Linked DNA regions of Homo sapiens: region 2 is linked to region 1. The links are contacts of gene promoters, found by promoter capture Hi-C in human tissues and cell types (Jung and others, 2019). All regions are on one chromosome and are shown on one strand. Each heading gives the region's core, a stretch centred on a gene start or on the middle of the fragment in contact. The rest is flanking DNA. Distances are from core to core; before and after follow the strand shown.

What was found. Contacts are between HindIII fragments. The study calls those that stand out against the background at their distance.
Region 2: a fragment that was not itself captured here is called in contact with the fragment with the promoter of ADAMTS18 in region 1 in 2 of the 25 tissues and cell types used here (adrenal gland and hippocampus).

The regions. Positions count from the first base shown.
Region 1 is chr16:77,433,236-77,438,803 of GRCh38, forward strand. ADAMTS18 (ADAM metallopeptidase with thrombospondin type 1 motif 18) reads right to left here and starts at 1,799. Exons shown (of 23, transcript NM_199355.4): 1 at 1,371-1,799; 2 at 1,183-1,270. The coding sequence starts at 1,460. RefSeq lists an enhancer at 1,495-1,995. The HindIII fragment of the contact is 10,424 bases long and covers 1-5,568 here.
Region 2 is chr16:77,532,271-77,538,210 of GRCh38, forward strand. No RefSeq gene overlaps it. Among named protein-coding and RNA genes, the nearest start is that of LINC02131, 56 kb to the right of the region's middle. The HindIII fragment of the contact is 3,978 bases long and covers 1,603-5,580 here.

The DNA.
Region 1 (5,568 bases), core at 549-3,048:
CACCTTCTTGTCCCAAATCATCTGAAACTCTGCCTGCTCTTACTTGGAAGGCTCTGTAGGAACGTTATCCAGCCAGCCTTCTATGGAACCAGCCATCAAACGGCCCCAGACACCTGCTACCAGCTTGTTTCCAAGGGGAGAATAACAGGCTGTCGGTTACATTCGGTTCTTGATGGAAGAAGGGCAGTCAGTGTCCCCTGTAAAGAGTGATCTCTGATTGACCACTTCAGGAGGTGAGTAAGGGTGAGGTCCTTACAAGGTTGTGGCTGGGTCGGACGTGGCCTCCAGCCATCTGATCCTGATATAAGAATGAGGGGTGGTTTTAGAAACTGCAGCCTCTCTGTTTGGACAAAAGGTGAATCCCTTCTCCATGACTCCATCCTGCCCCACTCCCCATTCCCCTGACAAGAAAAGGAGATAACCTTGCAAAACTAAAAATTACAGAATTCTAAAGAATCCAGGTTGAGCTGTAAGGTTTTCCTAGACACCTTGCGTCAGGAATCAGCTGTTCTCCTGTAGCTGATGGGAAACAATCAAAACAAGGATTTCCCTCTGGGCTCCACTGGGAAGTTAATAAATGTCAGAAGTGAGGGATTTTCTGGAAGTTTGTGGCTGGCGAACGTCAGAAAAGATAGATAAAGGACTCAGAGACCTGAAGTCACCTGCTTTCCTCTCTCTAAAAGCAGCCTTAGACATCCGTAAAACAAGGGAAGCAGAAATGAAAAAAAAAGAAGAGATAGAAAAGGAACAGAAGTCGAGAGAAAAATGAGGAAAGATGGAGAGAGGAAAGAGGCTCACATTCTTTCATCTCCCACTAAGAATTAGCTTCCCCCAACAAGAGTTAGGAGAGGGAGGAAATAAGTAATTCCTTAGTTAATGTCCACTTCCCTTCGAATTTCTCACTGCAGTTAGGATTTTTTTTTTTTTCTTGTTCTTCTTAACAAGCCACCTGTGAAGGAGGGAGAGTATTTGCTTTTATGTGACTTGCAGCTCGGGGCGTTGATTCTTTTGATAAGTTCAGTCCTTGCCAACCTTCCCCCCTCTCCAAACAGGAACCATTTCCAAGACAGCGCACACCTGCCAGGTTAGGGGGTGCGCTTTTCCATCTTTTCTCTCTTTGGGGGAAGGAAGGGTCAAAGTGCTGCGAAAGGCCCTTCTTGGGGATGGGGGGCAAATACGAACCATCATTTAATCCGCTGGCGCCGCTGCTGCTGTCACTGGCTAAGGCCGCGGCGACCGACGCACAGCAGAGGCAGCACAGCTGGAGCGCCTGCAAGAGAAAAGGTGACATCGCGCGTGAGGGGCGCGGCGGGGCTGGCGTCGGGCGCCCCCTGCCACCCGCTCTCGGAGCTCCGCTCGGCGGCACCTGCCTTGGCCACGCGCCCCAGTCCCGCCAGGCCCCTCGGCGGGCCCGAACCCGCAGCCGGGAAGGCACACGCGAGCAGGAGGGCGCACTCCATGGTCAGGTGCGGACGCGGCGGCTGCGGGTGGCCAGACGCGGCAGGCGGAGCGCACGGGCGGCGCGCATTCTTTCCGCGGCCCCGGAGCTCGGCGCCCCAGGTGCGGCTCCAGGTGAGAGCCGCCGCCGTTCACATCGCAGCGGGGGCGCGCTGGGACCTCCCCTCCTCCGGCCGCCTGCGCGCCCTCCCTTCTCCCGGCGCGGGCCTGCCGAGCTGCAGTTTGCGGCACCCCAGAGGGTACGGGGGGCTCCCTGGGCCGGGACTGGAGCGCAAACGGTTGGGAGACTGTCGGTGTCTGCCCGCCCGTCTGTGCGTCTGTCTGTGTCGGTGTGAGCGTCTGAGGCGATGGGGAAGACAGCGCCAGCTGGCTCCCCCAGCGCGCCGGAGCCGAGCGCCCGCCTCTCCACCGCGCGGTGATTGGCGACCAGCGGCTCCCGGGCTCGTCCGAGCCCCCGGGCTGGTGCAAGGGCGTGGGATTCCCGGCTCCAGCTCTGAGGGAGGGGGCGAAGGGGGCGGGGAGGCTGGGTGGGAGTGATAGGGAGGGAGGGACCGACCGCCATGAGAAGGAGGGGAGCGCCCAGGGTCAGGCTTGGAAAACGTAATTTAAGCGCACTGGGAGATGAGTTCGGAAGACGAAAGGCTCAGGTGAGTGGCGCGACTTTTTCGCTGCCTGTGCAGACTTCTCATTTTCAACTCTTCTGGCAAAGAGTCAAGATAGCGTCCTCAACACCTCCTAAGTGCTGGGAGCTATCCCCTGCTGTATCGCATTTGCCTCAGGCCCTACCTTTTTCAGGTGGGAATTATTAATTCCTTGATAAAGATGAGGAAAAGGAGGCTCAGATGCGCACAAGCTGACCTAGCTTCCCAGAGTCAGCAAATCTGAGGCAGCCGGGAGGACCAGAACAATGAGCTGTCACTGTCTGCAGCATGTAAAAACTCATGGCACGCGGGGGCCTCCCTCTTCTCCCGGATCTCTCTCTCTCTTCTTGACGTGACCGTGCTTCCCACTCTTCGAGATTGAATCTTGGCCCCAGATACCCAAACCCACAGAAATCAGTTATAACAAACAGCGCACGCCATCACTAGGAATGTGCATCCAGTTTGCTGTGTGCCTGTTCGTTTACTCAAGACATTTATTTGATCCTTTGATCCCTGTTTGCAGAGGTGAACAAAATACAGTCTCACGGGCCAGTGGAAACGAATCTGATTGGATAGCTCGACAACGGTAATAGAAGCAAAATGAACACAAATACTAAAAAGGAAAAGAATAGTCTCCTAAATTAGATGGCAGCAGAATCTAATTTAGATGGGATAAGATGTGTGTGTGTGTGTGTGTGTGTGTGTGTGTGTGTGGGTGTATATATACACACACACATATATATACACACACACACGCATACATACACGTGCAAGGCATCTGTTAGGAGCTGACACTTAAAATAAGGCCAGAGAGAGTGGATCGGTTTTATAAGGGAAGAGGGGAGTAGGATCTTGCATGTTAGGACAGGGGGCACAGCATAAGTGAAGGTCTCAAGGTAGTTAAGTGATTGCCACGTGAAAAGTGTTACAGGCCAGAGGAAGAAGCAAACACAGCAGTTGCTGGGTCAGCTGGACCTTGTAAGCTGGGGCGAAGCATGTTGGAAACCATTAGATTTAAATGAATGTGGGTTTGTGTATGTGTAGGAGGCAACATCATATCCAATAATAAAAAAATGTGAACCATTTTTTGAGCGAGTGTAGGGATTGGACGAGCTGAGGCAGGGTCAGAGAGAAACAAACCACGCAGCTGTTGCTGGCATGAAGGGGTACAATGACAGTGTCTTGCTTGGACCAGGGTAGTGGTAGTGGAAGTAGATGTATTACTCTGCTCAGTCCTGTGGGTACTGAAGTAGTTAACATGAGGTCTATGTCAAGCCTCGATTAAGTGATAGCTCAATACACATAGTCGGTTTTATGGAATGCAGCTGGGAAGAGGTAAACCCAGGCTGTAGCGGCAGAGAAGGTGATGTGTCTGCCTAAGGAACATGAAGCTAAGCCTCACAGAACATCAGGGCTAAACAAATCATTTGGGTTTCCCTACTTAATCTGGTTAAGCTCTGTGGCCTCTGTTTTATAATCTGTAAAATAGGAATCAACATGCTACATCAAAAGGATAGCCTGAGGGGTAAGTGAATATATTTTTCAAAGCACATTATAAGTGGACTTTAAGAAGTGATGGTGTATTTCTGTTATTTCATACATCCTGTGTCAAACTTGAATATACGTCAAAATCACCTGTAATGCTAGCTTAAAAATGCAGATTTCCAGGCCATGAAGCACTGTGATTCTGATTCCATGGATTTGGTGTAGGGCCCAAGCATGCATTTGTAGTAAGCACTTGTGGGTGATTCAGACACAAGTGACTTAAGTGCTTCATATGATTCCATGAAGAACTGGACACAAGAGGAAACTGGACATCAAAGACATGCAGTAAAACACTGCTGGAGGTCACATCACCAAGCAACGGACTGAATAAAACAGGAGACTGGGATTGACAGCACTGTCAGCGACATCATCAGGTGAACACTGACGGAACCTGGAGGGTGAAGGGCTTGTCCACACTCAGCTAAAAATAACCATGGCCCTGATTTGTGTCTCTCCATTAAGATACATTTGCATGAAATTGTCCATATTTTTCTGATCCTCCTCTTTTAGGGCTAACAATATAGGTTACTTGCCATGGTCAGGGCTGAAGTCTCGGAGAACAACCCTTAACTATGCTCTATGCTCAATTGTGGAATTTCTCAATCTCAGCAGTACTGAGATTTGGGCTGGATAATCATTTGTGGTAGGGGCTATCATCCTGTACATTATAAACATAGGATGTTTAGCAGCATTTCTGGCCTCTACTTCACTAAATGCCAGTAGCAGCCCCCAAAATGCAACAAAATGTTGTGAGATTTCCAAATGTTTCCTGGTGGGTAAAATTCCCCTAGGTGAGAACCTGGATAAATAGTACAGATTCCCAGTCCTATTCTGTGACATTTTTTTGTTGAGTGCCCATTTTTTTTTGAGAGTCTAGAGGGCTCCTCTTGAACCTAATGTAAGTAGTTTATCCTTAACTGATTTTACAGCTCTTCTTCCATACCCCAGTCAATCTTTGCTCTCCACAGATTCAAGTCCTCCATGATTGGGCACAGAAACTGAGACTCATTTCTTGCATAGTTCTAGACCTGGAAGATAAAAACTTGCAGTTCCATTCATTTGTAGATGTCTAGTCTCTTTTTTAGGGCTGATAAATACTTGCAAAGCCATAACTTCTGGGATGATTTTATACGTAGTTTTCCAGGAACTGGCCCTGCAATATGTATAAATTGTCTCTAGATGGTGACAGAGAATCATGAGCCCATGCTCCAGTCTTGGAGTTATAAACTGCAAAGTAGCTTTTAAGTTACTTGGGAATGTCAGTCTTACCTGATTTTAAAATGATAAATCTAGGACACTACAATGGCTATCTGAAGTTTGCAATAAACTAATGGGGATATGGGGGGGCAGAGCTCATCGCTGATGTGTTGTATTCTGTCAGACGTAGCCCAGAATATGCCACGTAACAGACATTCATAAATGTTTGTAAGAGGAGCAGAGGGAGGGAGGGAGGGAGGGAGGAATGGGGGGAAATTTGAGATAGAGAGATCACAGTGTTTCACTCTTAACCACGAAAAATATTCCTCCTTTCTCTTCCTTTAAAATCAATGGTACAGTTCTAGGCATTGATTTTCTTTTTCTACTGACATAAGCTTTTTTATTTTTTTATTTTTATTTTTATTTTTATTTTTTTTGCCAAATAACATTAAGATACTTGCCTCCTCCTAGACAGATCAAAAAATAAATGGCAAACCACGTTGCTTACTCACTTTCCTTTGTCCCTGGATTCATGAAGATGCAAACATCCCTTCCATGGAAAGTAAGAAACACTTACTGCCTCTTCCGGTGCAGTTGACTTTCTGTGCTATGACTGACTAACTCCTTATTTGCTCCTCTCCTTTTCCGTCAGCGAGTAGAGGGAAACTCTTCCTCCTCTAGCTGCTCAAAGCTGCATCAAACAGTGGGCTGGGTCTTACTGAACGGG
Region 2 (5,940 bases), core at 2,342-4,841, 100 kb after region 1:
CAGATGTCATCCTTCCTTACAGAAAACCTTATTTTTCTTCACTTTATAGTATCTAGCACTCCCCAGTGTGATGGCTACTCACTGATTGATCACTTCACCCTGATACCCAGAACTTTAAATTGATATTAAATTTCAATCATTAGATAGTTGAGAAAAGGGTTCCATATTCTCAAAAACTAGAGAAGATAAATAAAATAAAAAAAGAAATGACCCTGGGGAAAACAGATAATGCAGAGAACAAAAGAGAATTTTAAAAGCAAATTCTTGTTAACGTTTCTGTGAGATTTGAAACTTAGAATATTAATAAAACATGCACAAAATTTGTTTAAGTTCCTAATATATGCTAGATATTAGACCTTTGTCAGAAGCAGTTTGCAAAAATGTTCTCCCATTCTGTATGTTGTCCATTTAATCTATTGGTAGTTTCTCTTGCTGTGCAGGTGCTCTTTATTTTAATTCGACCCCATTTGTCAATTTTTGCTTTTGTTTTAATTGCTTTTGTTGTCTTTGTCATGAAATTTTTGTATGTAACAGACCTGCACTTGTATCCCTGAATTTAAAAGTCAAAAGATAAGAATAAACATCGGTTAAAAATGCACAAAAAAAAAAAACAACAGAGAACAAAAAATGCCTTGAGAAATTAAAAAGTATGTCTGTCCATCCCCATCCCCAGAAGAGTCTACAGTAAGGTTAAGGAAGTCTTCAAGAAAATAAACTGAAAAGACAAACAGGCACAAGGAAGGGAGATATATCTATTTCCTCAGACAAGTGACAGTATCAACACAGAAGTTACGATATCTAACTTAGAGCATTTTCAAAAAGGTGACAAAGAGAGTATCTATTTCTAAATTTCACCAAGATGCTCTTTGGCATAGGTATTTTAAAATTCATTATGAAGGATCATTGGTCGATTTTCCTACCTGAAAACATGGTGAAATTAATGAATACAGCTATAGGTAAACTAGAAAATGTACTCATCAAAATTGATAACAAGAGCCTCAAAATCTCAAATTTTTTAGAAAATGAAAAATTGAAATGAGATTTTCTTTTTTACTTATCAAATAAACTAAGCTTTTAAAAGTTGAAATGGTCAGTTTGGGCAAAAGAAGACTGGAATAGATACGGTTATTCTCTTTTCATAAGAGTGCAAACTGATAGAAATTATCCAGAAAAAAAAATTTATAACGTGCATAAAATCCTTCAAAAAAAACTCATGTCCCTTGCTTTCCTCTAAATCTATCTATCCTAAGAAAGTTAAACTTAAATCTTTTTGTAACAAAAATATTTACACAGACAAAGAAAGGGGAAAAAACTCAGACAGAGATATATGTAGAAAAATGTTTATTATTTTGGCATAAACATGGGAAACAATCTAGACATCTAACAAGTAGAGCAATTGTTTAAACATTATGGTTCATCAGGTAGGCCATCCAAGAGGATATTTTAACAGACTATTTCATGAAATGGCAAACGGCTATTGATAAAAAGTTGGATGAAAAAATCAGGATTCAAACCAGCATACACAATAGGATACTGATTAAAATTGTATGATACACATGGAGAGAGAGAGAGAGTGTTGTGGGGGAGAGAGAGAGAGAAATTCTAGGGATTGGGAGAACACTTCACTCCCAACTGTTAGCAGTGAATGTTTCTGACTGGTTGGACTATGGTTAATTTTTGTTCTCTCTTTGAATTCTTTTTTTCCCCAAACACTTAAATGAGTTTTGGGGGGGGGAAAAAACGTATCATTTCTAAAATAAGAATAAATAAATGTTTTATAATTTTGTTTTATGTTTAATCATTTAATTCTAATAAATTTTATTTGGGAGATTTGAGAGTTTAATAAATGACCAACTAATGAAATTCACAGACAAAACTCATGAATCTGTTTGGCCGTGTCCATCCAGGCAGAGTAAAGGAGAAAGAGTAGAGAAATAGGCCAGGCGCGGTGGCTCACACCCGTAATCCCAGCACTTTGGGAGGCCGAGGTGGGTGGATCATCTGAGATCAGGAGTTCGAGACCAGCCTGGTCAACATGGTGAAAACCCGTCTCTACTAAAAGTACAAAAATTAGCCAGGTGTGTTGGCGGGCACCTGTAATCCCAGCTACTCAGGAGGCTGAGGCAGGAGAAGCTTGAACCTGGGAGGCGGAGGTTGCAGTAAGCCAAGATTGCGCCACTGCACTCTAGCCTGGGCAACAAGAGCTAGACTTCATCTAAAAAAAAAAAAAAGAGTAGAGAAATAAAGGACGTGGCAGTGGCGGTGGGTGTATGTTTTTGGGGAGGTGAGGGAATGAGGAAGGCAGGGAAACAGAGTTCTCTGCTTCCTTTGCAAGCCTGATGAATAGAAAGGTATCAACAGGGTAACAACTCAATGAAGTTATTGCTATGAGCTGCCTTGGTTTCCTCCCCCAGACACACGGAGCTAAATGGGACTTCAGTGGGAGTCTGCAAGTTCTAATTGCTCTCCTGGCAGAAGCTCTCAGATCTGGCTCAAACACATCAAGAAGGACAATTTCCTAGAAATGGAACAGTCAGGTCTCAATTTCATGCAAGTTTATTCTTTTCAATAAGGCAGTTAAATCACATTTTACATCTGGTACTAAATTAATGGGTTGTATGTTGTTACGGACTTTTCATAGAACCATCTTCACAAGGATTACATATGCATAGAGGTTAAAATCATAGACTTAGGAGTCAGTTCCAGTTTGAGCTGTGTTTCCTCAGGCAAGTTATTTCACCTCTCACATCTGTTTCCTCATCTGTAAAATGGAGACAATCAAAGAGCTTACTTCTTTGGCTTTCTTATGAAGATGACATGAGTTAAAATGCATCAGGTATTTAGAACAGTGCCTGAAAAAGAGAATATGCTACATTTTGCAATGTCTGTTCTATTAAATAAAAATAAGTTGGAAACATTTCTTGGTCAGACCATATCTGACCGTATCATGTTTGCATCAGGAGACATGATTTCTTCTCTGTTGTCTGTGGTCACTGTCATAAAACAAACAGGTTTGTTTGTTCATTCAAATGTGAATAAAAAGAAAAAACAAGCAATGGTCAGTATCTCTTTTGACTGCCCCAAGTCCCAAGAAAGGGGAGACAATGTGGTGTTTGTAGGAGCTCACCTAATAGAGTACATGAGGCTGCTACAAACAGGAAGCAGAGGGAGAGGGAAAGCTTGGAGAAGTAGTTGCTGACCTTGGGAGAGACAGGGTGCCCCAAACTTGGAAGGGGACAAAGGTTGGGAGGGCAGCGAGTCATGGAAAAAGAGCCTGCTTCTTGGAAGCATCTAGAGTCATTGATGGGACTTCAAATAGTATTGATGCAGTGAGGAAGAAATACATCATCCCTGGCCTTCAGGGCTGAGGTTCAGGCTGCAGGTGTGAAGAGGTGGGTGGAGAAACCTGTAAAGATGCCTCGTCATAATAAGGAGGTGGAGCAGAAGGAGACAGCCATTTATGGAGCATCTCCTTTGTCCTGGGTGCTCTCCCAACTTACAAAGTAGGATCATCTTTCCCATTTCAAAGATGAGCAAATTAAGATAACTTCCCAAGGGTCATGTAGACCTGGATTCAAATTGCAAGTATTCAAATCCTTGATTTTCTATCTGTCCAGACTCTGCACCTCTCCTGGCCACCCATTATCAGTAAATCTTGAAGCTGCAGGATAGTAAGTCAGTCAAGATGAGGCAAGGTTTGACCTGCCTACCTGGTCATTTGCAATCCTCCTGTGATTTAGCCAAAATCTCTACTTGGTCCTCCTGGGGGAGTATACAGAGGAATATACCATAGATTTCAGAATTTGCATGCTATTAGGGATCAAGGAAAGGAAAGGAAGGGTGAGAACAGGCTGGATAAAATCCTAATACATCAGCCTTCATCTCTGTAGAGGTCCTGTTGATTGCTGCAAAGAGTACAGGCTTTGGCATCAGAGAGCGTGCGGTTGAATCCCAGCTGGGATTATAAATTGTGTAATATAGGGTCAGTGAATCTCTCTATCTGAGCCTTATTCACTTTCTCTATAGTATAAATTACTATCATTTCCATTTCACATAATACCCTGTGCGGGATGAATAAGACAACAGAGTGAGAGGCTTAGCTTGGTGCTTAACTAATATTAAGGCCCTCCAGCTCTTCCCCAAATGTATATCCATCCAGGTTTTCTTCTCCCCACCAAGACAAGGAACCTGATCTTAAAGTGTGTGCCTCATGCCCCTGAGAACTACACTGTGCTCAACATCCACACAGACATGTCTAAACCAGGTGGGCTCTTTAAAAACCTCCCTAACCCCTCACTGAAATTCCCAGTAATTATTTTAAATGACACAAAGAGAAGAACAAGAGGACATGAAGACAAAGACTGTTAGTTTTTCTAATAGCTGAAAAAGAAAACAAAATGAAGAAAAATAGTCCCCACGAAATTCGTATGGTAAAAAATACAAACCATGTTGTCTTTAACTGGGTTCATATAGTAAGTTCAGACTGTACTCGGGACATATATACCTTGTAATTGTTCAATAGCTTCAGCCTGGACAGACAGTGTTAATCAGTTTCTGCTGCTTGCTCTCAGCTGTGGCTTTGGCGAGTGAGAAAAGATAAATTCCCAGAGTTGAAAACTGAAAAGCAACACTGTGCAATCATGAGAATTAAGGGAAAAAAGACAGTCTTGGTTTGAGTTATTGTATATTCCTGGGGAAGCTGTGCAAGGACTTTCCAGCTGTGAGCTGCTAGGAGAGTCTGGGCCAAAATGCTCACAGGGGAGCTACATGGACTGCTGCAGTAGAAGGAACAGAGGCAATGGATAGACAAATGGTTCTCAGCCAGGGTCAATTCTGTTCCCTGGGAACACTCGACAATGTCTGCAGACGGTATTGATTGTCACGGGGGTTGGGGGATGTACTGCCGGCATCTAATGGGCAGAGGCCAAGGATGTTGCTAAATATACTGTAATGCACAGGACAGCCTCCACCCCTGCAAACCCCTCCAAGAAAGAATTTATCCAGCCCCAAATACCCATAGTGCTGGACTTGAGAAACCTTGAGCAAAACATACAGACAAATGCAAGCTCATTACTGTGGGCAAGAGACAAGCTTTGACATTCAGACTTAGCATTTAAAACCAAATCTTGTTTCTTATAATGGCACTTCCCTCCTCAAAGCCACATATGAATTTGTAGCCTCCAGTCTATGTTTCTTTCTTTTCTGTCCATGAGAGTGGAAACACATTATTTGTCAAGTCCTTAACATGCCACATACTTTTCTAAGTGCTTTACAACATTGTCTACTAACTCTAATTCTCATAACTCTGTGCAGGATTTATGATGATCATACCCATTTTACACACCAGGAAACTGAAGCTCAGAGGGATTATGTAAATTGTCTAACTATGTAGTAGCAAAACCAGGATTTAAATGCAGCCCTGTCTGATTCCAAAGTATCAACTCCTAACTCCTCAGCTCTTCTTGCAAAACTTAACCTTACAGCTTAGCCAAACCCAACAGGTCACTGAACATCCCTGACCTTTGTCCTCCTATGAAATGGAGATAATCACAGCTTCATAATGTTGCCTTTTATAAAAGGGAAGAACCTAGCATGGTACCTGGCAATATCATCATCTAGGTTCCCTAAAAGGCTCAAGCAGACAATTCCCATATGATCACACCCAGGAATGTCCTACAGTTGCAAACAAATTGGACTAGAGGTCCCCAGACCTTCTTCTAGTTCAGAGATTCCAGATTCTAGCCAAAACTTAGCAAATCTTCAGCACTTGACTCAAACCCTCCTCTCCTCCCGTGGTTACCTGATACTTTGCTTGCCCTCTACAGCACAGGTGAACTCTTTCTATAAAACCAAAGTTTCTTCCTTTTTGCACTGAGCTCCAGACAGTATTTCTTTTTATGTAAGATTGTAGAATTTAACTTGAAAGCATTCCATCATAAG